2 separate regions of the Homo sapiens genome follow, and region 1 is linked to region 2. Evidence: promoter capture Hi-C in 16 types of primary human blood cells and fetal thymus (Javierre and others, 2016). All regions are on one chromosome and are shown on one strand. Each heading gives the region's core, a stretch centred on a gene start or on the middle of the fragment in contact. The rest is flanking DNA. Distances are from core to core; before and after follow the strand shown. Region 1 overlaps RABGAP1 (RAB GTPase activating protein 1). Region 2 holds the start of RC3H2 (ring finger and CCCH-type domains 2).

What was found. The method cuts DNA at HindIII sites, captures the fragments that hold promoters and counts their contacts. A CHiCAGO score of 5 or more calls a contact.
Region 1: a fragment that was not itself captured here is called in contact with the fragment with the promoter of RC3H2 in region 2 in 1 of 17 cell types (megakaryocytes); the score reaches 5.5 in megakaryocytes.

The regions. Positions count from the first base shown.
Region 1 is chr9:123,036,285-123,039,209 of GRCh38, forward strand. The region is part of intron 13 of RABGAP1 (RAB GTPase activating protein 1); the gene reads left to right. It also overlaps a transcript of GPR21 not described here. Among named protein-coding and RNA genes, the nearest start is that of GPR21, 4.1 kb to the left of the region's middle. The HindIII fragment of the contact is 1,057 bases long and covers 929-1,985 here.
Region 2 is chr9:122,904,041-122,907,088 of GRCh38, forward strand. It overlaps RC3H2 (ring finger and CCCH-type domains 2), which reads right to left and starts at 1,319. Exons shown (of 21, transcript NM_001100588.3): 1 at 1,070-1,319. RefSeq lists a silencer at 774-1,423. The HindIII fragment of the contact is 2,040 bases long and covers 1-1,941 here.

The sequences.
Region 1 (2,925 bases), core at 207-2,706, 130 kb after region 2:
AAACTGAGCTACTTTTTGTGCCATGCTTCACAGAGATCTAAAGATATGTGTGCGTAGAAGTAATCGTGTAGTACTTTTGCCCATGCCTTTGTGTTATGTCTATATTTAGAATATCTGAATTGTTAGATTTCTCTTTTACAGCAAAATGTGCTTAAGCTAAAAAGTAATTCAGTGATAGGCTGTTGGCTGTCCATTTTATAATGGTGACTATATACAAAAATGTGTCTTTAATATTGTCTGTTCTTTCTATTCAAAGACTTCTGAAATATTAGAACATCAGGGAGAAGGGTGTCGGTCATAAGCAACTGAGTCAGAAAGTATACCGTAGTATACAGATTGTTTTTTTAAAATACAAGGTAGTTGAGACATTTTCTTTGTGGTTAAATGGAATCAACTAGTTATTTTTGAAAAGTATTCTTTCAGTTAGTGCTAAGGAATCCACATTTGAAGAGGAGAAGGGAAAACACTTAAGTCTCTTATTGCTATTTTCTCTCTGGAAAAAAAATCCTTTGGCATACAGTTCTTAATGGTCTTTTTTTTTTTTCCTGCCAAAGTACTAGAAAAACCTATAGGATTTTATAATTCTTCTATAGAATTATTATTGAGAGTTATGTGTGTTTGTATGTAGTAGTGATGTTTGTTCTTAAAAGTGATTATCTTTAGAGCAAGAGGTTTATTTTTCTAAAAGGAGAGAAGGAATTCCGGCAGCTCCAGGCACGAGAGTATTTCCTCTACTTTTCTGCTGTTCTGGAAATGTTCTGGAAGTCTTCAAGGGACTTACTTGATCTCTGCCTTTGGCTAGAGGTTGTAATCTGAATGCGACAGTGGTGTTCAGTGAGATGGAAGATGGAAGAAACCCAGGGGACATGGGTTAAAGTGGATTTCTGAATCCAAGAAAGGACATGGATATTTATAAAGCAGGCAGATAAGCTTTGGTTTTCCATCATGATGCCAGTGTTCTTATGATTTTAGGCTTTAGACATCAACTTGATTTTAACCTCAGTTGTGTTCTATTTAAACTTTTTTATTTTAAGTGACTAAGCATTACATAAACATTCAAACTTCAGATTCTGGGTTTTTCCCAAAACCTTGCTTGCTCTTTATGTTTAGTGTTAGCAAATTTTATTCTAAGCTGCTTCAAAATTTAGAACTCATACTGAAATTGCAAGTTATGTTAGAAATGGCTTGGTTAAATTGCCATTTCAAATGGGAAACCTTTTCTGTTAGATTCTGAAAAATGGTTGTATTGTATACATTTTCCCTTTAAGTGGTACAGATCTAAAAAACCAAAATTTACCTTTTTTCATACATGTTAGAGAATGTAACCTGTTCACATTTGCAGTTTGCTTATGAATTTTTAGTTTAGAAAATATGGCAATTTTAAACACTTAATTTTTGTTGAAAAATTGATATTAAATCAGCAGGTTTGATCTTATTTTGTTGTGTGTGTATGTGTTGGGAGAGAGGAGATGCTCCTGGACACAGTAGTGTCCCCTTTAGTGGCTGGGGGTGTTTTCTGTGTGATATATTTGGAAAGTTCATGTTTAACTGAACTTTTCATCCTGGCATATTTAATGCAACATTTGATGACATTTAGTTTAAATACCAGTCTGACTTCAAAAAAAATGTATTTTTAGATTCAGTTACCATGGCGTTGGCGGGATAGCTCATTTAACTTTATATGGCATGTGACTGGTATCAGAGGAAACATATACTTTTGGTGATTATGTTGAAATTATTTCATAGTAAATTTTAAAGTAGGATTATACTGATGTTATATTTGTAAACTAGTTGTATTTTTTAATGCAGTGATTTCAGTGAAAGTGGTTTTTTCCCCCTTCTTAGAGTAGAAAAGCAATTACAAATGGACTAGTGTGCTCAACTTTAGTGAGAGCATTATCCTGACACTAGATTGGATATTTGCGTTTTTTTCACGGGCCTATTGACTCTTACTCAAAATTCCATTTTGGAAAAGGTTTTCTTTAAGCTTTATTGCTGGATAAATTCTTTTCAAGCCTTTTATAATGGCTTTTACTTTTTACTTGAATAATGGTCTCAGTATTTTAAGGATTGGGAAAACTTGAATTTTTTTTTACCGTAAATGCATTGCCCACCTCCTTGAACTTGAAAATGAAGCAGCAGGGTTAGACTCCCAGATGGCCCAGATGGTGGAGTGGTTTCTAGGAGGGTTTCCTCAGCTTTTCAGGTTTGTTTGAAAAATCTGCATGTTGACTTGGTATAGGAATTGTTTTAATTTCACTGAGTATGTTTTTGTTTCATAGTTGTTGGTGAAATTACCAGCAAGCCAAAATGTATTGTTACATGAGCAAATTTTGGGAAATTTAAGAATGGGAAAACTGTGGCATTGAGATTTTTTGAAGTCCTCATAAATCATTTTGTGTGTTGACTTTTGTGTAATTTTTTTCATTTCAGGTTGAAGAAAAAAATATTAAGTATTTATATTAAATTTATATATTATTAATATTATGTTGCAGACCTTGGAAATATTGTAGACATTTCTTATGGCTGTAAACGAGTCATTTGGCCTTTCTTCAAAATTTGCATGACAAAAGGGCATCATATAGTAAAAATGAAGTTGGAACTGAGAATAAAAAAATGTAGGCTTCTGTTTCTAATTAAGTAGTTTTGTAAATGAGGGCAAGTCACTTCTCTAAATGCTTAATTTCTCCTAGAAGGAAATATTGATCCCTTCATACCTCATAGGGTTAGTTTGGGGCTTGCGTTAGATAATAGATGTGAAAGTACTTTGTAAATTGTAAAGTGCTTTGCAAATAAAAATCATTACTGTTATTTGTATCTGCCATTCTTCTACATGTAAGGAAGCCATACATCATGATGTGTTCCCCCACACTTTGATCTTTGAAGCTCAATGCTACACCACTACTCTGTGCTACTTAGCAATCC
Region 2 (3,048 bases), core at 69-2,568:
ACGTTAGCTTTCTCAGGTTAACCAAAAGTTCCTACTGGAACTTAAAAGTTTGGCCAATACAAAATTGGAAAAAAGATTACTTAAAGCACTTTATTTGGGATACAAACTCACCCACCCACAATGGGTAGGGGGAGAGTAGAAATGAAAAAAAGGAAGGCCGTGGGTAAGGGGAGAGGAGGAATTAAAAAGGGAACCCAAGGGTTATGAAAATATAAATAAATCACTGGATTAGATTTACTTTATGCCAGTGATTACTTGAGTCAATTTTGGTGTGAAGGATTTATCTGCCGGTATCTTAAACGGCTGCCTTGGGATTTGAAGGATGGAAATGACAGCTACCCTCATCTTCTCCCATCCTGAAAGCTAAGGATAGAAAAAAGTACAGCTGCTTCTCTGGGAAACAAAGATGCTTTCTACCATTCTTCTAAGATGGTGGAAGAGTCTCCTCAAGAGGCTACACCAAAAAGGAAAAATGAGAGAGGGAAAGAAGAAAGCCATAGCAGAATTTCCTGGCTGTGTTTCATGCCATTGCTCCTAGCCACAACCCCTGTGCAACCACTCAGGTCCGGCCGTCCCCATCCTGGGAGGTTAAGCCCTCCCAGGGCATTGTTTGGCCGGGGTTCCTATTTACCACTCAGATCGCCTCCACCACCCTCTACGCTAGGGTCTCGGGAAGCCCCAGGGCAGAAAGCTGAAAAGCTAGGAGAAGACTTGGTTTCGAGGACCTCTTCCAAACCCCCTTACTAACTGGTGTAGAAAAGGGAGAGTGAAGCCGGGCCTTTGCTTGGGTGGGTTCGTTAGGGGTCAGAGGCGTCCGCTCGGCCAGTGTCGAAGGAAGGTGGCCATTTGAGCCGGTCGCTCCGCATCGAAAAAGCCCTACCAGAGAGAGGGGCCTCCGCAGGGCCCGGGTTCCATCCGAGTGTCAGGTGCGGCCCTCAGTTCCCAACCCTCGAGGCACCAGGGGCGACAGCGCACAGGCCCCAGGGCTGAGACTGGTCTCCCGCCCGACCGCCGGGGACCAGGCACCCGGGCTGGGGCCCGAGCCGCATCGTGCCCGCCCCCGCCCTACCTGAGGGGGCCCGGGCGGGGTCGCTAAGGGCCGCTCCCGGGAGCCCCGCGACGGCGCGGCTTGGCGACGGAGGCGCCTCGTCTCGCCGGGGCAGAGCTCGGCGGAGGTTTCACGACCTCAAACTCCATCGGGAGCTACAGGGACAGCCCCGTTGGCGGCGGCGAAGGCCGCGACGGGGCCTCCTCCTCCTCCCTCCACCTCCGCCTCCTCCTCCTCCTCCTCCTCACCACGGAGGCGGACCTGGAGGGATCCCGATCTAGCTCTCGCGAGAAGTTACTCCCCACTTAACGCGAGATTACGCAAGCCCGGGAGTCGGGAGTTGGAAGGAAAGCGTAGTAGCCCCAGCCACCCAAACTGCGAATCAACTTCCCTCTGCCTCAGCGGATCCACCCCGATCACGTGACAAGGGAGCCCCGGAGCACTGTGGGAGGTACTGTGAGAAGGACTAGGCAAGCCGAAGGGATTGATGGGAAATTCCCTGCACATTCATCTGCGCCTTGAGCCGGCTTCCTAGACGCTGGTTTGAGCGAGTGTCTTAACTCCCTTCGTGAAAAGCGTGGAATCCATTGAGCAGAATCTGATACATCTGTGTCACATTCTTCTTCACACTCCTGTGATGACATGCCGACAGGATCCCTCAATCCCTTTACAAAGATGTCAAGTAATCTCCCCATTACAAAAACAAGAAGAAAACATGTATTTGGCAGGCACTTCCACATCTCACTTCTTTATTAAAGAGAAAACTCTGTTTCTAGACAAAGAGTCCAAAGTGGGGGGGGGAGGGGGGGAAGAAAGCTCTGAGCTCCTCAAAAGCTGGCAAAAATAAAAAATTTAAGCACAAATTCTGGCATCATATCTCAAATATTTGTTGAAGCTTTTTACACAGCGAACTAAGGTAAGAATTATTCTTACAGTTTATAATTTATAGATGAAACAGACTTGGAATAGGGATATCAGAATTAACATTTATAAACTACTTAGTATGTGTCAGGCAGGTCCTGTGTTAGGTGATATTTAATTTTAAATATTTTAGTTTTATTTACATTTCATTTAATTAGCAAAGTGATCCTAGAAGACAGATACAATGTACCCCTTGTTACTGATGAGAAACTAAAGAATGTAGGCTAGAAAATGACCATGACGCCGGGCGCGGTGGCTGATGCCTGTAATACCAGCACTTTGGGAGGCCGAAGCGGGTGGACCGCCAGGTCAGAAGTTAGAGACCAGTCTGGCCAACATAGTGAAACCCTGGCTCTACTAAAAATACAAAAATTAGCCGGGTGTGGTGGCGGGCACCTGTAATCCCAGCTACTCGGGGGGCTGAGGCAGGAGAATCACTTGAACCCGGGAGACGGAGGTTGCAGTGAGCCGAGACCGCGCCATTGCACTACAGCCAGGCGGGGGGGCAGTGCCAGACTCCGTCTCAACAAAAAAAAGAAGAAAAAAAATGACCATGACTTGTAATTAAACTCAAGGCACTTTCCAATGTGAAATCAGATGCCCAACAACAAAAATATCGAAGTAAACCTACGATAAATTAGAATATGGAAAGGTTGCTTCTACAGTTTTAACAAAATATATAGTTATTACCTATTATATTTGTCTGAATGACAGGCAAAAATCAGTGTTTTTGAAAAAAGATTCATTGGCCACATCGAAGACGTTTCTTCCACACATTATCTTTTTCGTTCTCTTCTCTTTATGAAACATATGCCAGGCCTAGAGAACTGTTAACAACCAATAATTGTTTCAGTAATTTCAACTGGACAGTGATAGGTAATTTACATGTACATATTTGTTTTCCACCCTACTGTGTATATATATATATACACACATATATACATATATGCACATATATACATATATACATACATATAAATATATATACACATATATAGATACATATAAGTATATATACACATATAAACATACACATTATATATACATATATGTACATATTTTTTTTTTTGAGACGGAGT